Linked DNA regions of Homo sapiens: all the other regions are linked to region 4. Evidence: promoter capture Hi-C in human tissues and cell types (Jung and others, 2019). All regions are on one chromosome and are shown on one strand. The core of a region is centred on a gene start or on the middle of the fragment in contact, and the rest is flanking DNA. Distances in the headings are between cores, read along the strand shown.

Region 1 (5,275 bases), core at 1-2,500, 660 kb after region 4:
TGAAGGAAGTGGGTGGAGCAAAACCCATATGGGCGAGTGTCCCAGCAGCTGCCTCAGTTTCCCTATCTGTAAAACGGGGCTGGGGACCTGCAGCTCTCACGGGACTGGTTACCCGCTCGCGGGTGCTCGCCCTGCATCCGAGACAGCACCTACAACTCCAAACCCACTCGGGGCGGGTCGAGGTGGGCCCTTCGGTCCCTTCGAAGCCAACATCCCGATTCCCCTTCCCGGGAAGGCACCCCCGGAAACGCCAAGGTCGCTCCAGCAGTCTCCTCGGGTCACCCGCTTCCCCGAAGCCGTCGTCCTCGCCTTCCGCTCTCGTCTTCACCGGCATACTCAGGTCCCCGCTGGGGACTGACACTGCGGGCTCGGTCGCCGCAAGGACTGGAAGGAAGGTGGAAGATGCGGGGCGAAAGCGGAGCGAGAAGAGTGGGACGCGGCGGAGCAGCAGAGCCGGGACTCAGAGCTCCCCCCTCGCCCCGCCCCTCTCCCCGCCCACTCTGCGAGTCCCGCCCCCTCTCGGGCGCCGGGCGGGGCCATCCCGGGGCTGTCCGCGGAGACGCCTATGCGGTGGAGGCTCCGGGCTTCAGCTAGGGCGGGGGAGCCCAGCAGAAGGACCGAGCAGCCTGGCACCCCACTTTGCCATCCTCTCCCTGGAAATCTCGGGGTCGGCGGGCCGGCCGCTTCGCGTGGGCGAAATCAGAGACACGTGGTTTCCAAGGCCCCTTCGGGTTCGGGAAAATTTTATGGTTCGGGTCACAGTAGGAAGCGGACAATGAGGCGGGAGGGCAGAGAGAACCGCAACACCTGGTGCCGGGTCGGGTCGTTTCCGGGGCTTTCAGTGGCCGGAAGTCGCGGCGCCTGTACTGACTCTAGGAAGGGCTGGAGTTGTTTTGAATGGGCGCCCGTAAGAGAGGTGGGCAAGTACGTGTTACAGACGGCCACGCCGCCCTTTAGGCGGTCAAGGTGGGGCGAGGAGACGTTCGCCCCCCTGCAGTCGGCCGGGTCACTACCCAAGAGCCTTTGGAGGCGGAAGCATGGAACGGTCTGCAAACGTTCCCGAGCGGGCCTCTGCGGCTCTGGCGGGCGTTTCGAACTTGGGCGCCGGGCACACGCCCAGTCCCGAGAGCGCTGAGGGTTCCCTTAGCGTCGCCCTCACCCCGGCCAACCCGCGGGGCGCCAGAGTCCTGGCCCTTTAAACGCCGCGCGTGCCTCGGCGTCTTCGTTTCGCGCGCCCGCCCGCGGCGCCGGCGGAGCGAACATGGACCCGGCTGCGCGGGTGGTGCGGGCGCTGTGGCCTGGTGGGTGCGCCTTGGCCTGGAGGCTGGGAGGCCGCCCCCAGCCGCTGCTACCCACGCAGAGCCGGGCTGGCTTCGCGGGGGCGGCGGGCGGCCCGAGCCCCGTGGCTGCAGCTCGTAAGGGGAGCCCGCGGCTGCTGGGAGCTGCGGCGCTGGCCCTGGGGGGAGCCCTGGGGCTGTACCACACGGCGCGGTGGCACCTGCGCGCCCAGGACCTCCACGCAGAGCGCTCAGCCGCGCAGGTAAGGCCTGGCCCGGCCGGGGATGGGGATGCTGATCAGCGCCGAACTCGGGACTCCTGGGAACCCGCAGGGTCAGGAGTTGCCTCTGCCTGCTTGTGACCTTGGGCGAGTGACTTGGTCTGAAGTCTCCGAACCCTCTGTATTCTTTTGTGTAAAATAGGGGCACTCCTGATGCCTACTACCTGGAATTGTTCGAGTTCTCATAAAATCGTTCTTCTACCGTGGTTTTTTTTTTTTTTTTTTTTTTGGTTTGTTTATTTATGTTTTCGAGACAGGGTCTCGCATTATCGCCCAGGCTGGAGTGCGATCGCGGCTCACTGCAGCCTCTGCCTCCCAGGTTGAAGGGATCCTCCTGCCTCAGCCTCCCGAGTAGCTGGGACTATAGGCTCACCCCACTGCGCCCTGCTAATTTTTGTATTTTTTGTAGAGATAGGGTTTCACCATGTCGCCCAGGCTGGTCTCGAACTCCTGGCCTCAAGTGATCCGCCCACCTTGGCCTCTGAAAGTGCTGGGATCACAGGCGTGAGCCACTGCGCCCAGCCTTTACCATGTTTTAAGGAGACTTTTTTTTTTTGAGACGGAGTTTTTTTTTGCTCTGTTGCCCAGGCTGGAGTGCAGTGGCGCGATCTCGGTTCACTGCAACCTCCGCCTCCTGGGTTCAAGCAATTCTCCTGCCTCAGCCTCCCCAGTAGCTGGGATTACAGGCGCCTGCCACCCAGCCCGGCTAATTTTTGTATTTTTACTAGAGACGGGGGTCTCACCATGTTGGCCAAGCTGGTCTCGAACTCCTGACCTCAAATGAGCCACCCGCCTCGGCCTCCCAAAGTGCTGGGATTACAGGTGTGAGCCACGGAGCCCAGCCTCTACCGTGTTTTAAGACTTTTTTGATTAAGAGATGGGAGATCACAGGAAAGGGAAAGCCTTTTTCACTTTCCAAACGTTCATCATCCTCTCTCCCCACTGCCCCCAAATCCTAAGGCTGTGTATTTATTTAGTAGTAGTGGTGGTACCTTTATGGAACTGATGACTTAGACTCCAGGCTGAAACAGGAAGAGGTAGAAAGGTGCCCCCCCCAAGTGGTGACCCCCTAAGTGGTGGCCCAGCTGCCTTGAGACACTTTATACCTACCCCACACCTTGCAACTCTTCATTACTTGACTTCCCACCACCCGCCCACAGATGCTTATTTGCTGGACCAGAGGGAACAGAGGTGGGTAAAAAGGGCATGGAGTACTCTGTGTCTCCCTTCCTGCCTCCACGGTCCAGCTTCCCCTCTGAACACAGGGGGATGGTCTACAGTTGTGGCTTCCCGGCATGAACGTGCAGCAGGCTCCCCTGGGGGCTTTCCTGCGGAGCTTGCCACACGCAGGCCTTGGCTCAGATACCACCCTCCCCCTCGGATATTTGAGATAGACTTTGGCTGGAGGATCACATGAACCCCGGAGTTCAAGGCTGCAGTGAGCTGTGATCAAGCTACTGCACTCCAGCTTGGATGGCAGAGTGAGACCCTGTCTCCAGAGAAAAAAACAAGAAAGAGATTGGAGGTAGACCCCACTGGTGAACATGAGCCTGGGTGGTAGCCCAGCTCTGCCCCCAGAGGTCCCTGGGGTTAGAGGAGTGAGAGTGAACAAGTCAAGTTGAAACAGTTGTTCCATGTCTGTGGGAGTGGGGTGTATACCCTGGGGCTGTCTGGTGTCCCCTTGGGACTGGAGTGAGAAAAGAGGGGTCTGTCCAGTATGGGACAGAGACTAGAAGATTCCTCCTACACAACCTCGCAGCAAAGGGTGGGACTCCTGCTTGGGGACCGTGCTGGCCAGGGGCTTAAACCTGGGCTGCTGTCCAGTGCCTCCCTTTCCCCTACCGCCCCCTTCCATCTCTAGTTCCTCTTCCCGATGTTCTAGCGTCATTTCAGAAGACTCCTCTGGAAAACACCCTTGGGGGCAGGGCCTGGGCCTGGGGGTGCCAGGTCTAGAAGCCTTTTCCGTCTGCTGCCCGCAGCTCTCCCTGTCCAGCCGCCTGCAGCTGACCCTGTACCAGTACAAGACGTGTCCCTTCTGCAGCAAGGTCCGAGCCTTCCTCGACTTCCATGCCCTGCCCTACCAGGTGGTGGAGGTGAACCCTGTGCGCAGGGCTGAGATCAAGTTCTCCTCCTACAGAAAGGTGCCCATCCTGGTGGCCCAGGAAGGAGAAAGCTCGGTGAGCCCCAGGGAACCCCCTGCATCCTTCCTCCTTTCCTGGGTTGTCCTGGAGCGCCCCCTAGCCTGGCCTGGCTCTGCAGCCTGGGAAGGAACTTGTGATCCTTGTGCCTGTAAGGACTATGGGGGAAGTAGCTGCATACGGTAGATGCTCAATAAATGTAGGCTCTCTCCTTCCGTACCAAAACCAAACACCTGCTGGGTCTCAGGGAGGCAGAACACCACAGCTTAACAACATAGATTCTGAAATCAGCGATCTGGGTTTGAGGTGTGATTCACCCACTCACTAGCTGTGTGACTTGGGGCAAGTCACTTAGCCTCTCTGCGCTTGCTTGCTTCATGAGTCAACAAGGGACCATATTCTGGCTTGCAGGGACGGCAGATATGAAATGCCTGGCACAGTGCTTGGGGTCTAGTATGTAGCTTCCAGAACCCACCCTGCCCCTCTACCTGGGAGGCCAAATGGGTGAGTGGGCTGGGGCTTAGACCCCACGGCTTTCCCACACCTTCCTCCCCATTGGCCACAACCACGTCTCCCTACTTAGGATGGGTGCCCTGAGGGCAGGGCGGGGAGGACTCCGGGCATGTCCCCAGGAATGGATAAACAATGCCCAGAGTGTCTTGTTAAAGAGCCCCTGGTGACTCCCAGCGGCTGGGTTGCAACCTCTGATTAAACCACCCTTTTCTCTTCCAGCAACAACTAAATGACTCCTCTGTCATCATCAGCGCCCTCAAGACCTACCTGGTGTCGGGGTAAGGAGCCCCTCGGAGACCAGGTGGCCATTGCTTTTGGTGGCTTCCTCCAGGGAGGCCTCCCCTGAGTTCCCTCCTGGGAGCACGTGGAGCTGCTGCTTAGATTTCCAGAGTACAGAGTGGCTCGCACCTGTAATCCCAGCACTTTGGGAGGCCGAGGCAGGCAGATCACCTGAGGTCAGGAGTTCCAGACCAGCCTGGCCAACATGGCGAAGCTCCATCTCTACTAAAAATACAAAAATTAGCCAGGCATAGTGGCGAGTGCCTGTAGTCCCAGCTACTCAGGAGGCTGAGGCAGGAGAATCGCTTGAACCCGGGAGGCAGAGGGTTGCGGTGAGCCAAGATCGTGCCACTGCACTCCAGCCTGGGTGACAGAGCGAGACTCCGTCTCAAAAAAAAAAAAAAATGATTTTCCAGAGTAGCCCGTGGCCGTCCTCCTCCAAGCCCCCTACTTTGTCCTCCCCACACCTCCCTCTCTTGGGGAGGTAGCCCTGGCATCTACTCCAAATCCCTCTTACTGCAAGAGTCCGGAGAGCCTTTGTTGGTCCTGGCTCCACTCTGAGGCTGGGGCAGCGGGGTTGGTCGGCCACAGGGGACGGAGGGGGAAGGAGTTGGGGTGATATTGTGGCTCTCTCCGAAGGCAGCCCCTGGAAGAGATCATCACCTACTACCCAGCCATGAAGGCTGTGAACGAGCAGGGCAAGGAGGTGACCGAGTTCGGCAATAAGTACTGGCTCATGCTCAACGAGAAGGAGGCCCAGCAAGTGTATGGTGGGAAGGAGGCCAGG
Region 2 (5,417 bases), core at 2,435-4,934, 830 kb before region 4:
TGGTGGTGCATGCCTGTAGTCCCAGCTACTCTGAGGCTGAGGCAGGAGAATAGCCTGAACCTAGGAGGCAGAAGTTGCAATGAGCCTAGATCGCGCCATTGCTTTCCAGCCTGGGTGACAAGAACGAAACTCTGTCTCAAAAATAAAATAATAATAATACTATCCTGGTGTTCCTTCCTCTGGGCGACGCACACAGAAGGTGCTTAAAGTGTGTTTGCTCTAAATGTGTTGAAAGCTACGGTAGAAAGGGGATGCTAAAAAGCCCCTTCTGCATTGAGTCCGCAGGATGTGTGTATGTGCATCTTATTTGGCATACCCTCTAGACTATTCTAGGTCACAACTGCTACCCCTGGTCTGAGCCCCTCTCCCAAGCTTCATTTTCTGTGTCTTTAAGCAAAGGGATTGATCCTGGGCAATTTCAATCGGTGGGGGTGTCCGGAATCCTCCGCCAGGGGGCAGCTCTGATCCAAGCTCTCTGTATGCCTAAAAATCCAGCCCTGTCTTATTTCCTGTCAACAGAAGAGCAAGCCCCTTCCCCACAGCCACGCTCCAAGGCCTTCCCAGGACTGGCCGGCTCCCTGACCTCAAAGCCTCTGGCATCTCTGAATTCCCAAGCCTAGCACATAGTAGTTCCTTGATAAATATTTGCAGAGTGCAAGGGCTGGAGGGCTCCTTAGAAACCATCTAGTTAGGCCAGGCGCAGTGGCTCACGCCTGTAATCTCAGCACTTTGGGAGGCCGAGGCAGGTGGATCACAAGGGCAGGAGATCGAGACCATCCTGGCTAACACGGTGAAACCCCGTCTCTACTAAAAATACAAAAAAATTAGCCGGGCGTGGTGGTGGGCACCTGTAATCCCAGCTACTCGGGAGGCTGAGGCAGGAGAATGGGGTGAACCCAGGATGCGGAGCTTGCAGTGAGCTGAGATCGCGACTCCGTCTCCAAAAAAAAAAAAAAGAAAAGAAAAGAAAAAAAGAAACCGTCTAGTTAATCTGGTGTTTCGCAGCCATTAAAAAAGACACATACCCTTTAAATAAATACAAAAATATCTCCCTCCCCCACTCAATATTGTAGCTCTCCAGGAAAGTATGTCCCTCCATCCCTGGTGAGAAGCATTGACAGAAAATAGAATATATCTTTGGCGACGCGTTCTCTAGTGAGTCACTCTGTTATTTGAATTACAAAGTCGTTTCTTCATTTTCAAATTATGAAACTATGCCACGCCAGTGAAATACTCATGTAAATGACCTCTGTCTCCCACCCCAGCTTCACAATACTATGAGCTTCCTCTCGGCCCTCTCCCAGCCAAGACTCAGAGATAAGGCCCAGGGAGTCCTGAGAAAGAAGACACTTCTCCAGGATCACACAGCAAAACAGCAGACCATGGACTTGAAAGTGGGTCTGTTAATTTCTTTTCTTCCTTCCTTCCTTCCTTCCTTCTTTTTTTTTTTTTGAGATGGAATCTTGCTCTGTCGCCCAGGCTGGAGTGCAGTGGCGCGATCTCCGCTCACTGCAAGCTCCGCCTCCTGGGTTCACGCCATTCTCCTGCCTCAGCCTCCCGCGTAGCTGGGATTACAGGTACCCGTCACCACAACCAGCTAATTTTTTGTATTTTTAGTAGAGACAGGGTTTCACCGTGTTAGCCAGGATGGTCTCGATCTCCTGACCTCATGATCCACCCGCCTTGTCCTCTCAAAGTGCTGGGATTACAGGCGTGAGCCACCGTGCCCGGCTCTTTCTTTCTTTTTTTTTTTATGGAGATGGAGTCTCACTCTGTTGCCCAGGCTGGAGTGCAGTGGCGTGATCTCGGCTCACTGCAACCTCCGCCTCCCGGGTTCAAGCAATTCTCCTACCTCAGCCCCCCAAGTAGCTGGGACTACAGGCACACGCTGTCACGCCCGGCTAATTTTTTTGTATTTTAGTAGAGACGGGGTTTCACCATGTGGCCCAGGCTGATTGCGAACTCCTGAGCTCAGGCAATCCACCTGCCTCGGTCTCCCAAAGTGTTAGGATTACAGGTATGAGCCACTGGAACCTGGCCTCTTTTTTTTTTGTGAGACAGAGTCTCAAATGATCTGTGTAACGGATTAGAGTTGGAGATGTCAGCATGAGCTCATGTTTAGCTTAATATAAGTACAGATGGTTACCTATAGAAATATTTATAGATATGTGTGTGTTTCATAGTATACACACACATTTCTTTGTCAGCTGAGACTGCCTGAAAGAAATGACATCTCAATAGCAAGAAGCACACCTAGCACCCAGACCTTGGATTATTATTATTATTATTTTTGAGATGGAGTCTCGCTTTGTCACCCAGGCTGGAGTGCAGTGGCATGATCTCAGCTCACTGCAACCTCCGCCTCCCAGGGTCAAGCGATTCTCCTGTCTCAGCCTCCCAAGTAGCTGGGATTATAGGTGCACAACACCATGCATGGCAAATTTTGGTATTTTTTGTAGAGACGAGGTTTCACCATGTTGGCCAGGCTGGTATTGAACTTCTGACCTCAGGTGATCCGCCCGCCTCGGCCTCCCAAAGTGCTGGGATTACAGGCGTGAGACACCGTGCCCCGCAGGGTCTGTTCATTTCTAGGTCCATTGTATTCTGACTGCCTGGTCTTGGGGTGGAAGTTCTACTTCCAGAGCCACCCAGCCTAAGCCTCCCAGATCTGGAAAGGGTAGGCCTGGCTGCCCTGGTCAGAGTCCCAGTGCCCCAGGTGGCTGCGGCCAGGGCATCCAGGGCACAATAGCCCCACCCTTAGTCCCCAGGCCTCAGTGCCCACTGCTACTCAGATGCCCAGGGGTGAGGGGCGGATCACAATGACCCTGAAGCGGCCCAGAGGCAGCCGGGAGGGGCTGGGAGAGGCACCAGGCAGGGATGATGGGCTCTACAGCCTGCCTGTAGAGAGCTCTAAACTCACAGGACCTTCTAGGGCCCCACCCAGAAGCCCACCAGGGTGAGTGTGACACTGCCCAGGAGTCAGCTCAGAGCTGACAACAATCTGGGAGTGGGGTGTGGTTGGGAGGAAGCAGGCTTAGAAACCCCTCAGTGTCAGAGCTGGGAGTAAGACTGGGGCTCTGCCTCCCAAAGGGGGAGTTTGTTAAAAGTCTGTGTCTTGGCCAGAAGTGGGGACTCACGCCTGTGATCCCAGCACTTTGGGAGGCCAAGGCAAGTGGATCACTTGAGCCCAGGAGTTCAAGACCAGCCCGTGCAACATAAATACAAAAAAATTCTACCCCATTTCTACAAAATATACAAAAATTAGCCAACTGTGGTGGTGTGTGCCTGTAGTCCCAGCTACTCAGGAGGCTGAGGCAGGAGGATCACTTGAGCCCAAGAATTTGAGGCTGCAGTGAGCTATGATGGTGCCATTGCACTCCAGCCTGGGTGACAGCAGGACCCCGTCTTAGCAAGACCCCATCTCTTTAACAACAACAACAAGAACAACAAACTGTCTTGGCTCCAGCAGAGACGTACTGAATCAGAATGGGGGCTGGGGGTAAGTCATCTGTATTTTCAACAGGCTCCCCACCCAGGGGTCTCTGAGGCAGCACCAGGGCTGGGAGGCTGCTGGTCAGGTCTCTCTTCCCTCAAGCTGGTTCCAGGTTTCCTAATTCCCAGTAGAGCGCTAATGACGGTAACAGTTCCACGCTTTGAACACTGCAAGGCAGGCTAAGTGCTCTCTCTACCAGCGGTGATGCGGTGATGCCGTTTCACGGCTGCAGAGAGGCAGGTGCTGCTATTATCCCCATTCTGCAGACCAGAGCCCCCAGGGAAGGCAGAGGGAAGTTAATTGGCTTGGCCAAGGTTACAAAGCTAATAAGTGGTGGAGCTGGGACTAAATCCTAAATAATAATAACTTTGAAATACTAAGAATGGCAGCTAGTCTATGTGTAAGCTTGGCCAGCGTGCCTGGCACTGTACCGAGCTTGCTGTTCTAAGACTGGCATGTACTTGCTCATTTAAACGTCACAGCAACCCCCAAAGTTGGCTACTCTTGCTGTCACCATTTTTCAGGTGAGGAAACAGAGGCTCTGGGAGCTCTCGCCTGAAGCCACTCGCTGTCCGCCGGGCCGGTGGCGTTCACCCCGCACCGCGCTGCCCCGCCCGGGGCACTATGGCCTGGGGCTGGACTATGCCCTCCCCACCTCAGCCGGCGCCCCCCACCCACGCGCGCTGAGGGTGCGGTGAGCTGAGTGCGGGGCCAAGCATGTTCTGGCGTCGACTTCGCCCAGGGGCCCAGGACCTGGCGCCCAAGGGGCTCCCTGGCGACGGAGACTTCCGACGCAGCAGCGACCCGCGGCTGCCCAAGCTGACCCCGCCCGCGCTCCGAGCGGCTCTGGGCGCGCGGGGCTCCGGGGACTGGAGGATCCCGGGGGGCGGCGCCGCGTGGTGGCCGGAAGGGGACGCCAAGCCCGGGGTGGGCGTCGGACGCCTCCCGCCGCGCCTGCCCGCCTTGCTCACCGCGACCCGGCGGGCCGTGCGGAAGCGGGGGCTGCTGCGGTCCCTGCTGCCGCCTCCCCTGCTGTCGGCCGGCGCGTCCCGGGAATCGGCGCCCAGGCAGCCAGGGCCTGGAGAGCGCGAGCGCCCCCGGAGGCGCGTGGCCAGGGAGGACCCCGACTTCTTGGGCGCCTTCCTAGGAGAGCTCCTCCCCAGCAGGTTCCGTGAGTTCCTGCACCAGCTCCAGGAGAAGTGCGCCGAGGAGCCGGAGCCACTGAGTGAGGCCCCGCGGGGCCCGGGGGGCGGGCCCGAGTCATTTCCGGTGGGGGGTGGTCCCTTGTGTCCCCGCACCCACCACCCCACCACCCAGGCTAGAAGGATGCTAATGTTAGCTGAGTATCTCAGAGCCCTCGCAACCCGTCCTTGAGGGCTGGTCTGCCATCACCCCGAGGCCACATGACTAGAAAGGACCGTCCCCCAGCCAAGGCTCACAACTGTTTCCTCCTGGCTCCAGCATCCCCAGCACCGCAACATCAAAGGGGTGTATTAGAGCACTGCCCAGGGTCTCCGCGGTGTCCCAACTGTTCATTCCTCCCAGACCTGTGGTAAGCGTCAGTCCGCTTCTTGGTGGGGACGGGGTTGCCATCGATGTTTCCAGGGCGGGACAGCCTGGCCACTCATGCCAGATGTGGCCTGTTTGTCTTTAAGGGGCCAGTCATCGCACCTCCAGGATAGTCTTACGAAGATTTCGCTCCAGCAGACACCTATTCTGGGGCCCCTGAAGGGTGATCACTCACAATTCACCACTGTCAGAAAGGCCAACCAGTGAGTGATGGGCGGGATAAGGGTAGGGTAGTGGAGGAAAGGGGCATTTCTTTCCTTCTTTCTTTCCTCTTTCGCCCATGAATGTATTCATTTATCCACCTATCTACCCATTCATCCATCCTTACATATGGCTGTCCGTGAATCAGATCTTC
Region 3 (5,102 bases), core at 1,985-4,484, 580 kb after region 4:
CTCATCCCTTGGTTCTCATCTCAGATGCCACCTCCTCCTGGAGACCTCTGACCTCCCTGGGGAGAGCAGCCCCACTCCCCTCCCTGACGTTCACCACATTTTCCAGTTGTCTTCTGAGTTTCTCCCTCTGCAGTGCAGAGTCTTGGTCTTTTCCACCATAGAATCCCCAGTGCTGAGACATCGTGCACCCTCCACAAATGTTTGCTAAATGACTGAATGAATTGGCCTCAGTTTTCCCTTCTGTAAAAGGGAAGGGGGTGAAGAAATAGTATAGACCCAGACAAGTTCTAGCAGCATCCCAGGCAGCTGCAAGGCTACCTCCATTGCAGAGTTGACAGCAGGATCCTCCTGAGCACCCAGAAGCCCGGGTGGGCCTGGGGCAGCCCTGATGCATTTTCCTGTGAAGCATTTTCTGTTGGGGATTGGCTCCTGGGAAGCCCCAGGAGACAGAATGGCTGTTACTATGCTCACCAGTCTGGGGACTGAGCCCTGTTGGAGAGGTCAGGAGCCCTTGAGGGAGCTGGCAGGCTGAGACAGTGGAACCCACTGAGCCTCAGTTTCCCTGGCCTTCTCACTAGCTTTCAGAGGATCATGAATGCTTTTCTGCCTACTCCTTCACATCAACCTAAGCCCCCTCCCCTGCCCTGGGCCTGCATCTGGACACCCTGCACATCCTCCTGTGGGGACAACGGCCAAGGGCATTGGGGTGGAGAGGGCAGCCAGAGGGCCCAGGCCTCCTGGGGCACGGTCCAAACCTTGCTCCACCACTCAACAAGCAAGTACTCGATGAAATCTGCTGTGGTCAGGGATGGCCCCTGCGTCATGGGCTCCAGGAAGGCAGGGGCTGGGCATGCAGGTCCCCAAGCCTAATTGGCTATCAGCGCCCCCTCCCGCATGTTTACAAAAGCACCTTTCCACCCATGAACTCGGTGGAGCCCACAGTCACCTTCTCAGGAAGGCAGGGCAGCGGCTGTCAGCGTTTCCATTCCGCAGATGGGGAAATGGAGGCCCACCCACCCACACGTCCCTGTGCCTGGTGCAGGACCCGGCTGTCAGAGGATGTGCAGCGTCGAGATTAGGAATTGGGCTTTGGAGTCTAACAGCTGCTGCCCTTTCTGAATGTGTGACCTTGGGCAAGGCATCTAACCTCCAGGGTCTCAGTTTCCTCATCTGTAGGATGGGCATCATGGTACCTGCCTCTTGGGAGCTCCTGTGAGCCTATGAAGGACTCAGCATAGGGGGATGCATGGGATGGGCTCAGTAGATGCGGGCTGAAATCACCAGTTGGTCCCCTCCCTACCCCAAGCCTGAAGCACGCAGCCTGGCATGGGGCAGGAGTTCAGCCAACATTCAAAGGACGAGAGGTAGGAATATGGTTTCTCCATTCTAAACTGCTGGATATCCCTGACTGCTGGCCCTTGGGGAAGGGGCCCGTGGTGTGTCTCTTGCCTGTGTCTCTGCAGCTCCGGGGGTCATGTGATCAGAAGGGGGGCTCTGCAGGAGCCATTGGAGAGACAGATGCCTTCCCCTCTGCTGACCAGATGGGCACGGCCGCCCCCACGGTGGCCTTCCAACGTCCCACACACACATGGCTCCAGTCAGGCCCTCTCCCTCTCACCTCTAGGGCTGGCATGGGTTTCCCAGGACATTTGAGGGGCAGGAACAACCACCCAGTCCCACTGTCCATGTTAGAGATGGGGACACTGAGGCTCAGAGAGGGCAAGTGACTTGCCTGAGGTTTTGCAGCAGAACCTGGCTTGGACAGAACTGCTGTACCTCTGCGGACAAGGGCCCCTGCCTCCCTCTCCCATGTGCCAGTCACTTTTTTGGCCCTGAAGGTCATTGGAAGAAAGCAAGAGTTTCTGAAGAAGATGGGGGGGAGATGAAAGACGGGGTCAGTGTAAACTCTCTCACTTCATCCCCCAGTCTGCCCAGCCCCCCAACCCACCTCCAGTACCTGGAGAGCTCCTATCTTTCTTCTCTCTCCTCAGCACCAGAAAAACTATTTCTGCCTCCCTTTGGGGGTTTGTGGGGAGCCTGCGGGTCACGACCCTGCCTGCCCCGCTAAACCCACGACCCTTTGTCTTTGCGGTTGTTCCTCTCTCCGCCACCTAGGCCTCTCAGCGCCTTGTGGGATCAGAGGCGGGAGGGGGATTAGGTTCTGCAAATGGCTCCCCCCTCCCGCCATCCCTGTCTTAGTCATCTCTGCCCTCTGCCGCCTCTCCCTCCAACACGATTCCTCTGGCCAGGCCAAGGGGAGGGCGACACTGACAGGCGCCCCCCACCCAGGGGCCGTGGCGAAGCAAGGGGCCGGCTGCTCAGAAAAGGATAAGAAGTGGTTTCTCCTCCCCTCTTCCCTTCCTCATCCTGCAGCCCGCGCCTCCCCCCTCGCCGCGCTGCGCACGGATGGCGGCGGGAGCCGCAGAGGTGTGTGTGTGCTGGCGGGAGGCCGTGCCCGGTCCTCGATGCCCGCGGGACTACGTCCTCTTCTAGGGACTGGGATGCGGGGGCTGACCTCTGCCACGGCCCAGGAATTCCCATGGGGGTAGGGGGATGTCCCCCATTGAGCCCGGTGTGGGGGACGCTGCCCCCGGGTGCTGCCCGCTCCAAGGGACTCCCGGAGCCCAACGGAGACGCTGAGTAATGCGGGCTCTCTCCATGCCCATGTTGGGGGCGGGGGGCAGCTCTTTGCCCGGGGCTTCTGGCAGAGCGTTGTCTGCCCTAAAGGATGGGACGGAGGAGGGGGCGTGATTCGGTAGCCGGAGGCTTGACGACGTTTGCAGACTAGCGGGGGGCGCTGCTGCCCCGAGGGGCTCTCGTGGTGGGGGGAGGGCCTCCTCGCTCCGGCTGGGGGTGGGGGGCGCGCCGGCCGCGGGTGCAGCGTCGGGGGCTGCGAGGTCGCCGCGCCGTCAGTGCCCCGGGCGGGGACTCCAGGGATCCCGGGGGTCGGGGGTCGGCGCCTGGGGGCGCGCCGCGCCTACCTGCCTACGAAATTCTCGAGCACCGAGCTCTTGCCGGCGCTCTGGCCGCCCACCACAGCGATCTGCGGCAGGTCGAGGTCCGCGTTCTGGCCGATGGCAGAGAAGGCGTCTTGCAGCCGGTTGACCAGCGGGATGAGATCTTCCATGCCGCGGTTGCCCATGGCTGCGGCGGGCCCCGCAGGCTGCGATCCGGCTGCCGCTAGCGCTCCCGGCTCCGACTCCGGCTCCGCCGCTGCAGCCGCGCGCCCAGACTGCCTGCGCCGCGGGGCCCCCGCCCCTCGGGGATCGGAGCGAGCACCGCTCCCGGACGCCGCTAGGGGGAGCCCGCGGCGCTGCGGGCCGGCCGCCGTGCGCAGGCGCCGTCCGGGGCATCATGGGTGTCGTAGTTTTCACCTTCTGCGGCTTTTGGGGTGCTTTAGCAGTGTCTGGGGTGCGCGGATGCTGCGCAGAATATATTTGTCAATGGGTTGGGTCTCACTCCTAGTACCAGGCCTCTTGGAGAGTGGTCTGGATGTTTCACTCCATCTTACCGATGAGGAAACAGGCCTGGAGAGCAGATGGGCTTCCTCTGAGGTCACAGCCTCCTGACCTCAGAGGTCAGAACTCCGAGATGAGTTCCCCTTCATCTCGCTGGCTTCTATCCCTAGATCCTGACTCTGATCTCCAACATGTCCTCTTCTGCCTTTGGTCCTCAGTTTCCTTGTTTCTAGAAGGAGAAAGTTGGAACATGAATTCAACAAATATTTACTAGGTACCTGCTAGAAGCCAGGCCCTGTCCTAGGCACTGAAGATTCAGCAACGAATAAGACAGCCAAGGCCTCTGCCCTCATAGATCTTGCATCAAGCTGGGGAGACAGACAGTAAATAAGTAAGCAGATAAATGAAATAGTAAAAATGAAAATAATTCATAGTAAGAGGGATGGAGGAAATAAACAGGGTGAAAAAAGGTATCTTTGTGGGTGTGGAAAGTTCACATTGGCTTGGCAGGAGTCGGGGGTGTTCTCTGCAGAAGTGACATTTGAGAAGAGACCAAAATGATGAGAAGGAGCCAGCAGCAAGCAGATCAGGGGAAGAGCATGCCAGGCTGAATGACCAGCAAGTGCAGAGGCCCTGACACCTGGAGGGCCCTTCTTGGGAGAGTTGGAAGCTCTTGTCCTAGAGAGTGGAAGTCTTTGCTCCAACCCATCAGGATGGTGGTAAAACAGCGTAAAACAGTGGGATTCAAATCCAGGGCTCCTACAATCCTACCCTGCGTACCCTTTCACACAGACAGACCATGGGGCCCTGAGCCCAGCCGTCCATCTCTGCATTTAAGAAACCTAATTAGTATTCACGGTGGAGGCTAGGAAGGGAAGGCTAGCCTACACTGTGCTCATGGGGAGTCGGTGAGTCATTTCCCTGCGCTGTGAACAGTGTGGGGGCACTGCTGACAAAGTGGTCTGTGAATTGGAGACTGTTCACTTACTCATCCATTTAATGCGTATTTGTTGAGCCAGGTACTATGCTAGACTCCAGAGATAAAGCAGTGAGCAAAACGGACAAAGTCCTTACCCACATGTGGCTGACAATTCAGTGGAAAAAGACAGACAATATGCAAATAGGGCAATAACGATGGCCCTGTTAGATGGCGTGCCCTGCAGAGCAAGAAAGCAGGGGCGGGGTAGGGTGGTGTTGCTATTGTGAAGATGGTGATCAGAGAGTGACCCTTGTGGGGAGGAATCTTCGAGGCAGGCATGGGGAACAAGCAGGCCCTCTCCCTGGTAGCACCAGAGAGTGGATTAGGAGTCTAATCTGGGCCTTAAACAAGCTGCGTGACCCAGGTCCCTCCACGTCTCTGAACCTCAGTTAACTAATCTGGATAATGGGGATAATAATAGATCAAATGCCTGTGTAGGGCACAGCCCAGGCCTAGTGCTCAGGGGGCCCTTATTAAGCTGCAGCTGTGAGGATGCCAATGATAACAGCTCACCAGACAGCTGGAGCATCAGTGCCACACAACTTGCATGGAACCTGGCAGCTGTTCCATGCCAACCTGTTATTATGCTCTGAGGACAAGAGAAGGCAGAGATGGAAGCCTGGATGACTGGCACCAGGAGGGGGTGCAGTTTATAGATGTTTGCC
Region 4 (4,890 bases), core at 589-3,088:
CTTGGCCTCCCAAAATGTTGGGATTACAGGCATGAGCCACGGCACCCGGCCAGAAGTTCTTGCTGGCAAAGTTACAAGGGCAAAAAAGTGACAAGAAGCTATGCAGAACACGTTGGGATATTTTTTAAAACAGGCAAAAAGAGAGTTATCTTTGTGCTCATTGGGGCAAAGTCTAACACAGCAGGATCAGCTCCTTAAAGTCAGTGTCCCAAGGCTACCCATTTTACCACTAGCCAAGGTTTAGTTCAGGCAGCTTAGACCCCAAGCCAGGGAGAGAACAAGGAACAACCCTGCAGTTAACCAAACTCACCAACACAGGAAGCTAGCTAAGGAATGAGGAAAGACTGTCCTGGGCTCAAAAGGTCCCAACTCTCATTCTCCAGGCTTCAGTCCTGTCCTGTTACTCTCAGGAATCTGGCACCTCCTGCGGAAAGCTTAGGAAAGCTTAGGGCATGCTAAGTGTGGCCACTGCCCCTCTGGGAAACCCCTCCAAGCTCAAGGCAGTCACTGCCTGTTCAGCTCTACAGAATCTGGAAAAGGCCCCAAGAGTCTGTGTGTAATTTCCTTCCAAGGCCCCAGCCCCCAGCAGCTGGGCCCCAGAGCTGACCAGGTGTGGCCTCCCCCTGTATTCTAGCCACAGGGCTGCTGTAGGGAAACCGTGAAAATACAGAATGGCTTCTTACCACTAAAGCTGAGTTCCCGCAGCTTTTCCAATGCAATTGAGGGCTCCTTCAGGACATCCTGGAAATCTGCAATTCTGGAAGGGGAGATAGGGCGGCAAATGAAGCATGCTGATATCGGCTCAGTGAGACCCACAGCCCTCAGCTCCCTCACACTGCCAGTTTCCAACCTGTGCCTCTCTCCCCTTTAGGACATAAAAATCACACAGCTTAGTCAAGGTCCTCACCAAAGACAGCTTTGGAGAACAACAAAACTATATTTCACTTCTTCCTCTACAACCAGAAACACAGAATGCCAGGGAAGAAACTTGAGAGATATTCTTGTCTAGAAGTTCCCAAATGAGGACCATAAAATTAGACATATTCCAACATTCTAATACTTAGTGAGCTGACATTTACTGGGCACTTCCTGCCGGCCAGGCCGGGTCCACGCACAGCCACCAACTGAACTCCTTGGACCTCAGGAACCAGGAGTAATTTGATATGCAGACAATGGACCATGCTCACAAATATAACCATTACAAGACCTCTGGGCCTGCCAGAAGGCAAGGACAAAGGGTTTAAAAAACACGTCCTGAAGGAAAACTGAAGAGTGAGCAAAATTCAGCCAATGCTGCAGGATCTGGCCTGGGGGAGGGGCCAGACTGGAGAATGCAAGTTCTCTAGCAATCCTAGTAAGAAAAAGGCACGGGGGACAGGGTGCACTTGGAGAGAGTACGGGAGCAGGGGGATCAAAAGGGGGAAAGGCACGGGGGCGGGGCATGGGGGTCTGGATGAGGAAGACTCAGGGGAAGGGGGACACCAGGGGTCCAGGATGAGGGAGGCAGAAGCAGTGACATCAGGGGCAGGAGAAGGGCCGCCCCTCCGTCGTTCCTGCAGCCCACAGGCAATGAGGTTAGAAGGTGGACGCTCGAGACCCTCTGCCGAGGGGGTCTGCCGATTCCTGGCCACACCCGCGCTTCCCCCTTCTGAGGGGCAGAAGGGGCAGCCTGGCCAGGAGTGGCCCAGCCGGGTCAGGCCCCATGGCCCCTTACCGGCTCTTGTGCAGACTTGACATGGTGTTGACTTCCGGACCCCCCAGCCGCCTCCGCCGCCTGCGCCTCTGCCGCCTGCGCTGCCGCCGCCGCCGCCGCCCCCCAGGGACGCGGGGCTCTGCGCAAAAGCCTCCGGCGGGAAACACAGCCACTAGCCTGCGCGTTCCACCGCCTCAGCCCCGCCCCGCCCCGCCAGTCACGTGCCACCCCTCGACTCTCACGCTTCCACACGGTACTGGCGGCTACGGCCGGCCGGGTTGAGCGGGGCAACCTCGGGTCTGGTGGGCGTGGCAATCGCGGGCCGGGAGCCCCAGCGCCGCCGACCCTGCGGGCCAAATTTGAGAACCCGCCGGTGACAGCGCAGACTGTGTGTCTCTGGACTATTCCTTGCGCTTCCCTGGGCCTCAGTGTCTACTTACGCAATATACCTGTCACCCTGTCGTCTTCCCTGCACTCACCCCCCTGTAATTAACTACTGCATGATTGTTACAGGAGTCTCGGCCTCCCCTGCTAAACTGTTCAGGCCCCCCAGCTTATCTTGGTCTCTGCAGAATCCTCAAGGCCTGTATAGCAGGGACTCGCATGAACCGCCGTGCGCGGCCCAACTTTTTTTTTTTTTATAAAAACTATACCAGCAAACCCTATAAAATGTAAGTTAGGAAGAAAGAAAAAAACACAAATGATATCTTAAGAAAAATAGGCTGGACCGGGCGCGGTGGCTCATCCCTGTAAATTCCAGTGCTTTGGGAGGACGAGGCAGGCAGACCACTTGAGGTCAGGAGTTGGAGACCACTCTGGCCAACACGGTGAAACCCCGTCTCTACCAAAAATGCAAAAATTAGCCGGGCGTGGTGGCAGGCGCCTGTAATCCCAGCTCCTCGAGATTACCTTCTTTACAAAAGATGTAAAAATTAGTTGAGTAGGCCGGGCGTGGTGGCTCACGCCTGTAATCCCAGCACTTTGGGAGGCTGAAGCGGGCAGATCACCAGGTCAGGAATTTGAGAACAGCCTAACCAACATGGTGAAACCTCGTCTCTACTAAAAATACAAAAATTAGCCGGGTGTGGTGACGCACAACTGTAATCCCAGCTACTCAGGAAGCTGAGGCAGGAGAATTGCTTGAACCCGGGAGGCGGAGCTTGCAGTGAGCCGAGATAGTGCCACCGCACTCCAATAGCGCCACCGCACTCCAACCTGGGCAAAAACGCAAGACCCTGTCAAAAAAAAAAAAAAAAGAAAAGAAAAGAAAAGAAACTGCTTAAAGATTTTCCGAAATGGTTGTATTATTTAACACCTTTTTCTTGAGAAAAAAAAAAAAAGAAAGAAACAGCTAGCCAGGCGCGGTGGCTCACGCCTGTAATCCCAGCACTTTGGGAGGCCAAGGAGGGCGGATCATGAGGTCAGGAGATCGAGACCATCCTGTCTAACACGGTGAAACCCCATCTCTACTAAAAAATACAAAGAAAAAAATTAGCCGGGCGTGGTGGTGGGTGCCTGTAGTCCCAGCTACTCGGGAGGCTGAGGCAGGAGAATGGCATGAACCTGGGAGGCAGAGCTTGCAGTGAGTGGAGATTGCACGACTGCACTCCAGCCTGGGCGAAAGAGCGACACTCTATCTCAAAAAAAAAAAAAGAAAAAGAAAAAGAAAAGAAAGTGCTTAAATATTTTCCAAAATGGTTGTATTATTTAACACCTACCCCAGCAGTATATGAGAGTTGCTGTTGTACCACGTCCTCACCAATACTTGATGTGGTCAGTCTTTTTAATCTTAGACATTCTAGTAGATGTGAAGTGGTATCTCCTGCTTTAACATGCATTTCCCTAAAGACATATGATGTTGAGCATCTCTTCACACGTTTGCTATGCATATATACTCTTCTTTCTTTTTTTTGAGACATGGTCTCACTCTGTCACCCCAGGCTGGAGTGCAGTGGCGCAATCTCAGTTCACTGCAACCTCTGCCTACTGAGTAGCTGGGACTACAGGCGCATGCCACCATGCCCAGCTGATTTTTGTATTTTGAGGTAGAGATAGGGTTTCATCATGTTGGCCAGGCTGGTCTCAAACTCCTGACCTCAAGTGTCTGCCCACCTCAGGCCTCCCAAAGTGCTGGGATTACAGGCATGAGCTACCATGCCTGGCCTTCTTTTTTTTTTTTCTTGAGACGGAATCTCACTCTTGTTGCCGAGGCTGGAGTGCAATGGGGTGATCTCCAGCTCACGGCAACCTCTGCCTCCCGGGTTCAAGCGATTCTTCTGCCTCAGCCTCCCGAGTAGCTAGGATTAAAGGTTCATGCCACCCTGCCTGGCTAATTTTTATATTTTTTGATTTAAAAAAAATTTTGTATTTTTAGTAGAGACGGGTTTTCATCATGTTGGCCAGGCTGGCCTCAAACTCCTGACCTCAGGTTATTCTCCCTCCTCGGCCTCCCAAAATCCTGGGATTACAGGCGTGAGATACCATGCCTGGCAGCACCTGGCCTTCTAATTTTTTTTTTTTTTTGAGATGGAGTCTGGCTCTGTTGCCCAGGCTGGAGTGCAGTGGTGCAATCTCCACTCACCACAACCTCCGCCTCCTGAGTTCAAGCAATTCTCCTACCTCAGCCTCCCAAGTAGCTGGGATTATAGGCGCGCGCCAGTATGCCTGGCTAATTTTTGTAGTTTTAGTAGAGACGGGTTTCTCCATGTTGGCCAGGCTGGTCTTGAACTCCTGACCTCAGGCGATCTGCCCACCTTTGCCTCCCAAAGTGCTGAGATGACAGTCATGAGCCACCATGCCTGTCCCTATTGCCCGTTCTTTATTGTACTTTTTTTTTTTTTTTTTTTTTGAGACAGTCTCTCTGTTCTTGGCTGGGCTGGAGTGCAATGGCGCAATCTTGGCTCACAGCAACCTCTGCCTCCAGCAATTATCCTGCCTCAGCCTCCCAAGTAGCTGAGATTACAGGCGCCCACCACCACACCTGGCTAATTTTTGTATTTTAGCAGAGACGGGGTTTCACCATGTTGGCCAGGCTGGTCTCGAACTCCTGACATCAGGTGATCTACCCACCTCGGGCTCCCAAAGTGTTGGGATTACAGGCGTGCATCACCATGCCAAGCCTATTGTACTTTTTTTTTTTTTTTTTTTGATACGGAGTCTTACTCTGTCACCAGGCTAGAGTGCAGTGGCGCAATCTC

What was found. The method cuts DNA at HindIII sites, captures the fragments that hold promoters and counts their contacts. A contact is called where the count stands out against the background at its distance.
Region 1: the fragment with the promoter of PTGES2 here is called in contact with the fragment with the promoter of TBC1D13 in region 4 in 1 of the 25 tissues and cell types used here (small bowel).
Region 2: a contact is called between the fragment with the promoter of C9orf50 here and the fragment with the promoter of TBC1D13 in region 4, in 2 of the 25 tissues and cell types used here (pancreas and stomach).
Region 3: the fragment with the promoter of DNM1 here is called in contact with the fragment with the promoter of TBC1D13 in region 4 in 2 of the 25 tissues and cell types used here (dorsolateral prefrontal cortex and liver).

What each region holds. Positions count from the first base shown.
Region 1 is chr9:128,123,704-128,128,978 of GRCh38, reverse strand. It overlaps PTGES2 (prostaglandin E synthase 2), which reads left to right and starts at 1,250. Exons shown (of 7, transcript NM_025072.7): 1 at 1,250-1,540; 2 at 3,538-3,735; 3 at 4,429-4,487; 4 at 5,128-5,275. The coding sequence starts at 1,262. PTGES2-DT (PTGES2 divergent transcript) reads right to left here and starts at 450. Exons shown (of 1, transcript NR_024425.1): 1 at 1-450. RefSeq lists silencers at 240-349, 380-579, 1,220-1,509 and enhancers at 890-1,009, 1,650-1,729. The HindIII fragment of the contact is 32,314 bases long and covers 1-2,910 here.
Region 2 is chr9:129,619,368-129,624,784 of GRCh38, reverse strand. C9orf50 (chromosome 9 open reading frame 50) reads left to right here and starts at 3,684. Exons shown (of 7, transcript NM_199350.4): 1 at 3,684-4,718; 2 at 4,955-5,045; 3 at 5,149-5,265. The coding sequence starts at 4,211. It also overlaps a transcript of NTMT1 not described here. RefSeq lists enhancers at 502-551, 562-701, 3,572-4,222. The HindIII fragment of the contact is 8,954 bases long and covers 2,136-5,417 here.
Region 3 is chr9:128,201,511-128,206,612 of GRCh38, reverse strand. It overlaps DNM1 (dynamin 1), which reads right to left and starts at 3,234. Exons shown (of 22, transcript NM_004408.4): 1 at 2,982-3,234. The coding sequence starts at 3,142. It also overlaps a transcript of CIZ1 not described here. RefSeq lists enhancers at 1,448-2,020, 3,452-3,551 and silencers at 2,309-2,603, 3,172-3,391. The HindIII fragment of the contact is 10,387 bases long and covers 1-3,321 here.
Region 4 is chr9:128,784,201-128,789,090 of GRCh38, reverse strand. It overlaps TBC1D13 (TBC1 domain family member 13), which reads right to left and starts at 1,838. Exons shown (of 12, transcript NM_018201.5): 1 at 1,715-1,838; 2 at 684-757. The coding sequence starts at 1,737. RefSeq lists a silencer at 1,701-2,190. The HindIII fragment of the contact is 9,895 bases long and covers 1-4,890 here.